Regions from separate parts of the Homo sapiens genome. Here region 2 is linked to region 1. The links are contacts of gene promoters, found by promoter capture Hi-C in human tissues and cell types (Jung and others, 2019). All regions are on one chromosome and are shown on one strand. Each heading gives the region's core, a stretch centred on a gene start or on the middle of the fragment in contact. The rest is flanking DNA. Distances are from core to core; before and after follow the strand shown.

Region 1 (5,403 bases), core at 1,710-4,209:
CCGCACTCACACACAGCCCCAGTAACACTCACACTCACACATGGCCCGAGGGACCTGCACTCACACACAGCCCCAGTAACGTGCACACACACACATACAGCCCCGGTAATGCACAGACTCACACGCAGCCCCAGTAACGTGCACACTCACACACAGCCCTGGTAACGCACACACTCACTGAGGGGCAGCAGCAGCGCAGAGCATGGCTTACAGTCGTGGAGATGCCCCAGCTGCCCTGCCCGCCCCTTCCACCAGGCTCAATGCCCTCTTGCCATGGGGTGTCTATGTGCGTGGGGCGTGGCCTCCTGTTCCCTTGGCATACTGCCCCACCAAGGGGCAGGTCACGGTGGGACCGGCCACCACAGGCCCCGGGGAGCCTTTCCTACCCCACCCTTCGTTGTCCTGCCTCCCAACAGCCAGACAGGTCTATTACTGCTTTAAGTCTCTGGGTTTGTATTCCAAATGCCCATGTCCCAGACTCCAAAACCCCCACCCATCTTCAAGTTCAGCTGCCACCAACTCCAGGAAATGCCTTGATCTCCCCAACCCCACCCCCACCTGGGGACCACAGCCCTACAACCTCCCACAGCCAAGCCTGGCAAGCTGCCATCTCTCTTCTGGCAGTACAGGCTTCCCTCATCCAGATGGGACACTTGTGCCACTTAGAGCTTCCATCAGGGCTCCTGAACCCCAGCCCCACAGCTGTGCTCACTGGTAGCTCACTCCAGGACAGAAACAAGAATATTTTGAGCTGACACTTGCTGCAGGCTAGGCCCTCATCAGCCCTGCCCACAGAAAGTGACCCAGTGGTTCCTGTTGCTTGTGGACTTGTCTGGAATATCTCTCCTTCCTTCATCAGCAAACTCCTACACATCCTTCAAAACCCACCTCCAGTGTCCCCTCCCCTAGGAAGCCTTCTCTAACCTCTCTGCACAGAGTATGCTCCCAAAGCACCAGGCACCTCCGTGTTCTACAGCAAAGGCCTTACTTTGAAGTCCACGAGCGAGGGCATCAGCACAGGGCCCAGCATACAGCAGATGCGTGATGGATGGAAGGTACCCCTAAGAAGGTGGTACCACTCTTAGGGGTACCCTTGTGACCATGCAGAGTTTGGGAAGGTTGAGTCATCCTAAAGATCAGGAGTCAGTCGGTGGCCAGGCTCTGAGACAGGTAGGTATCTGAGCCTGTCTGGCCAGGGTTGGAATAAGAGGTCATCTCACGGCCAAGTCGGCTGTCCCACCTTTTACCTGGGGAAGCCTAATTGACCCACTGGGAACAGCGTTGTGTTTTGTCCTCAGCATGTTTGGATGGGTCTCTCCATATCAGTGAGAGGAATGAGCAATGCCAAGGCCTGGACAGGGGCCAGCTGAAGGGATGGGGAGCCCAGTGCCCCAACCCCTTCCCCGGCTCTGAAACCCTGTAGATCCTCCCAGAGCCTTTCAGGTAGGGCCCTGGGACAAGCCCATGGCCACAGGCCTGGCTGTGGACAGAAAGCAGAGCCCAGTGGGAAACCACAGAGGACAGCCTGATTGAATAAGTGCAGGGCCCAAGGCTGGTCAGCCCACAGACTGCGGGCACCTGTCCCTGTGACCTGCTGCCCAGGATCCAGCTGCAGGACCTCTGGGGGGAGCTGGCTGGCGGGAAAGGAAGGGATGGCGGCTAGGCCTCCAGGCTGGACCTAAGCCCAGGGGTAGGCACCCCTGGCCTATTCCCAGGTAGCCCCATCTTAGACTGAGGAGCCACAGAGACAGCCTGGATCATTGATTTGAACTCCTTTCTTTACATATGGACCAACTGAGGCCCAGAGGGACAGCTACGTGTCTGTGTCCACACCGCGGACCAGCAGCAAGGCCAGAGTAGGGAGCTGGTGATGGGATGCCTCCTCTTCTGGATCTTAGCCACCTGAGGGGCACAATGCCCCCGAGAGCACCTACACGATGGGGTCTGCAGGCACCAGGCCAAGTGGATACGCACAGCTGGAATGGTGGGGTGAACCTTCATGGGGACCCAGCCCCACCCCGACCCCAGCCCCACCCCTCTCGGCAACACCGTGAACTCTTCACTCTTGTACAGCAGACATCCCGCTAGTCCCAGCTCCATCACTGATATGCTGTGTGATATCTGCAAGTCCCTGCCCTCTCTGGGCCTCAGTTTCCTTACCTACAGGATGGGGAGAGGCACTAAAAAGATTCCTGAACGCTCTAACAGGTGGGCAGACCTCCCGAACCCAAACCAATCCAACCCCCACAAGAGCCCTGGGAGAGCGGGGGTGGGAAGGTGGACACCACCCCCACCTAAGGTACTGAAACTGAAGCCCCAGCCCTGCGTCGCCTTAGTCCTCACTTAGTCGACCCCTCCCAAGCCGCTGGCCCTGCGAACCGCCCCGCTCCACCTAGCGACGGGCGGAGGGTGGAGGGGGTTCCCGGCCCGCGCCGCGCGGTCCCGCCCACCCCACCGCATGGCCCCCATTGGCAGTCGCCGCGGCTCTGGGCAGGGCGCCGTGCTCTGATTGGCCAGCGCCGCCCGTCCATCCCGCATTCGCCATGGCGACCACGTTGGGTCCCCCGGGAGAGTCCCAAATTCCGTCCCCGCCCGCCGCCCCCTCCCGTCCGGCCCGGGCCGCGGCATTCCGGAGGCGCCTCCCCTCCCCCATCACCCCGCGGCCCCTCCCCACCGGAGACCTGGGGTTCCGGGGGCTGAGGGAGGCCGGGGAGGCGTCTAGAAAGTTCTGCTCTGAGTTCGGGGGTTGCCGCGGGCGCCCCGACTGTGTCTGCTCCTCCAGCACGCCCCACAACTTAACCCCTTCCTTCCCGCGGAAGGCGCGCGGCCTGGAGCAAGTTCCCGGGCCGCCTTGGCCTGCCGCCCCCCGGCCTGCCGCCCCCGCTCACCTCGGGCCGGGACTTGCGGGCTCCGTACGTCCCAGCCGCTGCGGCGGGGTAGAGCGGGCACCGTGCAGCTGCGACCGCCGCCGGAGGGGCCGAGGGAGGGCCGCGGAGTCTCCTCCTCCCTCCCGGGGGGAGGGGAAGCAGGGGGAGCGGCGGGGCCCCCGAAGCGGTCGCAGGCTGCGGCCCCGCTGTGACCCCGGCCCACCGAGCTGCTGGGGTGGGGGCTCCAGCCTAACTTCGGGGCGAGGGGTGCGGGCCGGGGCGGTGGGCTCTGCTGCAGAGCGGGCCGTACCCCAACGGAGGCCCCACCCCCGTGAGGGGCCGAGAGTTGCGGGGGGGCTCGGCTTTCTTGGTTCAGGTTTCCTCAGCGCCAACTACGTACTAGGCGCCCCCAGCAGAAACGGCCACCGCGGGTCCCAGCTCGGCACGTGGAGCGAGCTTACCAAGTCTTCACTGTTGTTACCTGCATTTTTCCCTGGGCCAGCTCTGCCACCGAGTGGAAGTGGGCCAACAAGTCTGTGCCCATCGGGCCTCAGTTTCTCTTTCTGTACAACAGAAGGGTTGACGAAAGCAACCTTGCGCTTGTTAAGAGGTGGGGGGCGCGGGGAGCACTCGGCCCGGCGGGCGGAGACTTTTCTCTGCATTGCGATGGTGGTTGGCAGGCCCTGGGGAATTACGGTACTTCGCCTTCGGGGACGCCCAGCTGTTTTGGGGCTTTCTCTCTATTGGGGGTAGGATGTTTGTGGTCTTGACTGGAAAGCCGGGACAGGCGTCTGGAGGACTCCCCACTACATCCTGTACCCTGGAAGGCCCCCGAGGTGAATCTATTTAAAAGAAGACCAACAATTCACCAAGATGGTGGGGAAAACCTGGCCTGATTGGGATTTTACCTAGAAAAAGAAGCTAAATATTACGAAGATAAATTAGTTTTACCCCGTGATTAACGGAGTTTAGATTATGATTGCAACCACGCACGCCTTAAAATGAACCAAGAATGAATCAGATGTTAACACTGGAAGTCTTGCTTTTTCTTGTAATAGTTGAGTATGTAGCATCCTTCCCTTCTGAACTGGTTTTTGCAGTAAGAGATTCATTTTTGCAAAAATATTTGAGAGCTTCCTCAAACTCAAGGATCACTCTGAATCCTTTGATAGTCCAGTGCCTTTTTTCGGGTCTGGGTCACTTCCCTTGCAGACGTTCCCTTTCTCTGTGGGCAGCGGCTGTTCCATTTCTCCTGCTTTGCTTCCACCAACTTCATGAAATCCCATACGTTGCAAGACTGGCAGTTTCACTTGTCGATTCATTTGCTTTGTATTTGTTATGCGTGGCTGAATGTTGAAAGCGTCTGTTCACCAGCCAGAGATAGATAGGAGATGTATGTGGGGTTTGAGTACTCAGAGGACAAGGGCATCCACATTTTACAGCTGAGGAAATGAAGGCTCAGAGAGGCTCTTGGCTCAGACTTGCACAAGGTCCTACAGCCAGTAACAGCCTTGGATCAAGAGCCCAGAGGTCTTGCCCAGAGTTTTTGGAGGTGGAAATGGGGCTGGGGAAGGTGGTGGAGACTGAGTTGATGGTGCACCTGAACTCCAGCTATAACCTCATCACTATCAGGCCTTCTCTCCTTAGGAAGAAGCAGTAAATATTGTCCTGAGGATGTCTTTTGCAGGGGCTAGGGTGGGGTGACGTGACCCACCCGATCGTAGAACCAAAGTAGGTGCTGGCCACAGGTTTTGGCAGCTCGCATGATGTTATCTTAGTTACCTAGGGGCTGGGTGTTATTACCACCCTCTCATAATGAGAAAAGTGAAGATCAGAAATGACTGGACTGGGCACGGCGGCTCACACTTGTAATCCCAGTGCTTTGGGAAGCCAAAGCGGGAGGATCGCCTGAGGCCGGGAGTTCAAGACCAGCGTGGGAACATAGGGACACTCTGTCTCTACAAAAAGATAAAAAGTTTAGACAGGTGTGATGGTACGCTCCTGTAGCCCCAGCTAACTTGGGAGGCAGAGGCCAGAGGATCGTCTCGAGTAACTGGCCCGGGGTCACCCTATGAGATGTCAGATCCCAGATCTGACTGTTTCAATTTTACCATAGTTCTCTTTCTAGAACAACACCCCCAGGCGCCTCTCTGAATGCAAGGCTAATCTGGCGTCAACCTCCCCAGTGGTCTCGGCAGGGTTTCTCTCTGGCAGCCTGTCCCACTCAGTTCAGGACAGTCAGGTTTTTGAGGCGTGTGTCAATATTTCCCACACTTCAGCAGTTCTGTTTTCCTGTATTACTGCCACCACTTTTTGCCACTAACACATGCCCTTATTTACCTAGCATTTTTCTTTAAATCATTTCACTTTGTAGGACCTACTTGTATCTTAAAGCCTATTTCATATAGCTAGGTAAATAGAAAATTTGTATAACTTGCCACAAATAGAAAAAGATCATAAAAATAAATAGTATGCAAATAAAACAACGTTAGTAAAGTCTAGCTAGAAACGTTCTCTTTGTTAAGAAGGGGCATCA
Region 2 (5,403 bases), core at 2,037-4,536, 290 kb before region 1:
GCAGAGTGCCAGGAAACTGATTCAGTCACAAAACTGACACAATTTCACTGGCAGAAAATGACTTTTGCACAAGTTTCAACCATCTTGAATGTGTATCCATGAAAACAAACCATCCACCTAAGATCAGCTCTTTCCAATATTGCCCATCATTTACCTTTTGCTATTTATTCACTCAGAAGAATTCCTAGTGCCAACCCCCAATCAAAGGATTTTAAAAATGAGTATTAATGGAAAAACATTTAGTGTATTCAAGTCAATTTTTAGTTTTGCTACAAGTGGAAAAAGGCCATTCTGTATTCAGGAGAAAACGTTCTGATTTCCAAGAATATGGTTTAACAACCCAGGGATTAGGGGCTATATAGCATGATGGTTGAAATAGGCCCTTTGGAGTGGGACTGGACCCAGGTCCCACTAATGCTTGGTTTCCCAGTCTGTAAAATGGAGATACTACCCACCTCATACCGGTTTTTTGTTTTTGTAAGGTCTCAAATATTTCAAAAGGAGACAATGTATTTATAAATGTTTAGCACACTATCTGATACATCCTTGAGTGGGTACTTTTTATCTTTATCCCCATTTGTTCCTAGAGTCAGTAAGGTTGGTGAAATGGATTAAAAGATGGCCACAAATTATTTGACATCCCTCCCGTCAAGAAATGAGGTTTATGTCTACTTTCCTTAAATTTGGGTGGCTCTGGGTCTGCTTGATCAGTGGAACACAGTGGAAGGGCTATTGTGCCAGTTTCCAGTACCAGGTCTTTAAGTGACTGCCAGCTTACATTTCAGTGTCTTGAAACACTTGCTCTTGGACCCAGCACCATGGTGTGAGAAAACCCAAGAATCCCCTGAATCCTATAGATGGAGAGGAACTGAAACCCCCCAAACCCCGGCCCCAGTTCTCTGGCCAATGTCCACAACTGAGAGCCAAGAGCCAACACTAATTTGCCAGCCATGTGAGTAAACTCCTTGGAGGAAGCTCCTCTAGTCCATTCCAGCTGCCCCCAGCCGACACCAACTGGAATAGAGACTAGCTGGCCCTGCCCAAATTACAGATTAGTGAGCAAAATGGTGGTTTTAAGCCACTAAATTTTCAGGTGGTTTGTAACAGCAATAGATAACCAGAACAGATTAAATCAAGGTGTGTTCCTCCTCCACTCCATCAATGACTTAGGAAGGGTAGGCAAATTCATTTTGTCCAGAAATGTGTGGTATATAGAGAAAGTAGGTCATGAAGAAACTCTCTGAGTTTGCTGTAAGCTGTGTGACCAGGGCTTGACTAAACAACTCAGTCCAGTAATTCAGCAAATCTTTTTAAATGCCTATCTTCCACTTGGTGCTAAACAGAGTAACTCATAATTGATGTCACCTGACCGGGTGCGGTGGCTCACGCCTGTAATCCCAACACTTTGGGAGGCCGAGGCGGGCAGACCACCAGAGGTCAGGAGTTCGAGACCACGCTGGCCAACATGGTGAAGCCCTGTCTCTACTAAAAATACAAAAATTAGCCGGGTGTGGTGGCACGCGCCTGTAATCCCAGCTACTTAGGAGGCTGAGGCAGGAGAATCCCTTAAACCCGGGAGGCAGAGATTGCAGTGAGCCGAGATTGCGCCACTGCACTCCAGCCTGGGCAACAGAGCAAGACTCCCTCTCAAAAAATAAATAGGCCGAGCGCAGTGGCTCACGCCTGTAATCCCAGCACTTTGGGAGGCCAAGGCGGGCGGATCACCTGAGGTCGGGAGTTCAAGACCAGCCTGACCAACATAGAGAAACCCCATCTCTACTAAAAACACAAAAAAATTAGGCATGGTGGCGCATGACTGTAATCCTAGCTACGCGGGAGGCTGAGGCAGGAGAATCGCTTGAAACCGGTAGGCGGAGGTTGTGTTGAGCCGAGATTGCACCATTGCACTCTAGCCCGGGCAGTAAGAGCGAAACTCCATCTCAATAAATAAATAAATTAGTAATAATTTATGTCACCTTGGTCACAGCTGTCACACCCGACTGTGTCTTTGTAACCATCTTTGTTTCAGATCCCACGGATATCTATTTTAAGTCCATTCAAAGATGTCTGCTAGGCCGGTTGTGGTGGCTCACACCTGTAATCCTAGCCCTTTTGGAGGCCAAGGTAGGTGGATCATCTGAGGTCAGGAGTTCGAGACCAGCCTGGCCAACATGGTGAAACCCTGTCTCTACTAAAAATTCAAAAATAGCCGGGCATAGTGGCACGTACTTGTAATCCTAGCTACTCGGGAGGCTGAGGCACGAGAATCGCTTGAACCTGGGAGGCGGAAGTTGTAGCCAGCCGAGATCGTGCCACTGCCCTCCAGCCTGGGCGACAGAGCAAGACTCCGTCTCAAAAAAATAAAAAATGTCTGCTAACCCATTCTGACTGGCCACCTGACCCTCAGTTCATACCTTAAACCCCTCTAGTTCCTCTAGTCATATACCACACTTTGGCCATAAGGTATCATGCAACTAAAGAGACACAATGCTTAGTTGTCCAATCAAGAGAAATCAGCTCAAACGAATCCTTTTTCAAAGTTTGGCAGTTTTGAAGAGGCCTTTTCCTGAAAGGTATCTGATTCCTGATTGCGTGGCTCAAAATAGTTCTTCAATTCTCATCTTGTATAATTAGTCAAGAAACCAATTACTGCCGAGTAATCTTTATGATGCGAAGATTATAACGTAAATTACAGGACATCGACTTCTTGCGATGGGGCTTTCCTTCCACGAGGGGTAGGAACTGTCTTGAAATCAGACGTCAGCATCACCTGGTTCAAGGGATAAGGGACTGGCTCTCCAGCGACTTGGCAACTTACAAGCGCTCTTTAAACACGCCTTAAACTACTTATTTAATCCTCCACACTCAGGGAGGCGCAATTTATTCTCGAGTTGCGAGTGAGGAAATTCTGGCTCGTGGCTTCGATTCCTTCATCCGTACAATGGGGGCGACTTGAGACGGAGTTCCCACACAACGGGTGCTCGCCGAAGCGCCGCATCCCTCCGCACTCCCTTCCGGGACTTCCTCTCCCTGTCTTGCCCCGCCCCGGCATCGGTAACGCTCGCCTGTGATTGGATGCCGGCCGGCCGTGAGGCGGTGGAAGGGGTTGCGGTGGCCATGGTGACAGGAGGCGGGGCGCCGCGCCCCTCCGGCAGTCACCGAGGCCCGGACCTGCGGCGTCGGCGGCGCGCGCAGAGGGCCAGGCGGGCGTAGAGGCCGGACCGACGCGTGGCGGCAGAGGGTATCCAAGGCCGGACCTGGCGCGCAGGCGCTGACCCGACCTGGCAGTGAGCTGGCCGCGGCCTTGGCTGAGAGGCCTTAACCCCGCCGGGCGGCCGCGCCCTGCATGCGAGTTGGGCCGCGGGCGGGGTTGGAGCCTACTCGGGGCGACTGCGATGGACGCCTTAGAAGGAGAGAGCTTTGCGCTGTCTTTGTGAGTAGCTCCTCCAGGGCGCAGGCGACTTGGGGCCGGAGGCAGCGGGCGTTCGCCCCGGGGCCTGACCCTATAAAACAGGTGTCCTTAGGGGCCGGGCCGGGCCGGGCCGGGCAGGGTGGGGGCCGCCAAGGCGCCGTCCCAGCTCCAGGCCTTCCTTTTGTAGAGTACTAAGGCTGCAGGTTTCAGGCCCCGCAGGACAGGAGTGCGAGGCGGGTGTCACCGTTGATCAGCGCCTCCATCACAATCCCCAGCCGCCAACCCTCAGCTGTCAGCAAAGCCTGGAGGGGTTGAGCGCCCGAGGCCCCTCCACCCCTCCCTGGCCCCCGCCTCCCGGACTCCTGACCAAATGACCCCCCCCGGCAGGTGTTTCGCCCGTGCCGGGTTCATGCTCACAAGCAGACAGGTATGGGGTGATAGCTAAGAGCCTGGAGAACAAGTTTTTATTAAAGTGGAGTCATGACATTGAACGTTCATGTCACAAACGTGCCGAGTGTGTTTTCTTCTGTTTGGACTTACTAGATCAGTCAGTCATTCTTAATCGTTGAAGATGGGTGATGGGAAGTTCGTTTTGCTACTCTTTTTTCTCTTGTGCATGTTTGAAAACGTCCATACTAAAAACATTTTTTTAATGCATTATTTGAAATAGCACCTAATCCAGGCATGTTTTTCAGCTCCTCCGCCTCTGATGCAGAATTTGATGCTGTGGTTGGATATTTAGAGGACATTATCATGGGTAAGCTTTTAAGATACTGTTTTTAAGGACTTGCTTGTTTCTTTAAGGACATTGAAATCAATTTGGAGAGTTAATTTTAAAAAGAGAAAACATCAAGCTGCCTGCAATTTTTAATGTAGCACAATGTAATACTTAAGTAAAGGCTTACTGCAGTTTGTCTTAGAAACAAACAGCCCAGTACTCCTGAAAACATCTAATAAGCATAGATTCAGAGGCTGGAAGGGACTGACTCAGGCTAATAGGGCACCAGCAGTGTGGCGTTCTTCGCAAAACTATAGGAAATAATGATCTACTCTATTTCTTATGTAGGGTAAGAGCAATTTCAATTTTAGATAGTTTTGAGTTTTAACATTTTCATGCCATAAAACACATAAAACCAGGCCAGGTGCGGTGGCTAACGCCTGTAATCCCAGCACTTTGGGAGGCCGAGGTGGGCGGATCACGAGGTCAGGAGATCAAGACCATCCTGGCTAACACGGTGAAACCCTGTCTCTACTAAAAATACAAAAAAAATTAGCCGGGCGTGGTAGCGGGCGCCTGTAGTCCCAGCTACTCAGGAGGCTGAGGCAGGAAAATGGCGTGAACCTGGGAGGTGGAGCTTGCAGTGATCCGAGATCGTGCCACTTCACTCCAGCCTGGGCGACAGAGCGAGACTCCGTCTGGAAAAAATAAAAATGAAAATAAACACATAAAACCATAACCATAAGCACACATGGCCATAAAGAAAACAAGGTATTAAGCTTCAGCTGGTTCTGTATTTTCCTAGGTTTTGAGTTCCTACTTGTGGATGTATTTGGGCATCCATGAAACCTGCTAAGTAACAGAGAAGCAGTAACAGTCCCCAGAGGTTTAAGACAAGTATGTAGGAGGGGAAAACTTACATTTGAGAAAATTCTGTTGACTTTAAGTTTTATGAGAATTGAGAAAAGAACACTGTTATTTGGTGTTATTGGCTGTATGGCTTAATCCATTTAGAATGAAAATTACTGACCAAGTTTTTATACCTTCAGGTATAAAGGTTCATGCCCTTAACTCCTGAATATAGATGTTTCATCATTAAGCTCGTTTCCCATGTGGACTTGGGGATTTCTGGGGAATACTGAAGAATCCATTCAGTTCTCTTGCCTATTATACCCTATATGCTATGGGAAAATGAGCCTTCTGTGAGCCTACGGTATTTATCCCAAAGTCTGGGTCCTTTCTGAAACTTTCCTTTTATTTTTAGAAATAATCT

What was found. Contacts are between HindIII fragments. The study calls those that stand out against the background at their distance.
Region 2: the fragment with the promoter of ARL2BP here is called in contact with the fragment with the promoter of CCDC102A in region 1 in 1 of the 25 tissues and cell types used here (lymphoblastoid cells).

What each region holds. Positions count from the first base shown.
Region 1 is chr16:57,533,612-57,539,014 of GRCh38, forward strand. It overlaps CCDC102A (coiled-coil domain containing 102A), which reads right to left and starts at 2,960. Exons shown (of 9, transcript NM_033212.4): 1 at 2,889-2,960. It also overlaps a transcript of ADGRG5 not described here. RefSeq lists a silencer at 2,253-3,202. The HindIII fragment of the contact is 34,087 bases long and covers 1-5,403 here.
Region 2 is chr16:57,241,973-57,247,375 of GRCh38, forward strand. It overlaps ARL2BP (ARF like GTPase 2 binding protein), which reads left to right and starts at 3,287. Exons shown (of 6, transcript NM_012106.4): 1 at 3,287-3,433; 2 at 4,108-4,169. The coding sequence starts at 3,396. LOC124903697 (a long non-coding RNA gene) reads right to left here. Exons shown (of 2, transcript XR_007065082.1): 2 at 3,843-5,403. RefSeq lists silencers at 3,006-3,385, 3,476-3,685. The HindIII fragment of the contact is 10,161 bases long and covers 1-4,541 here.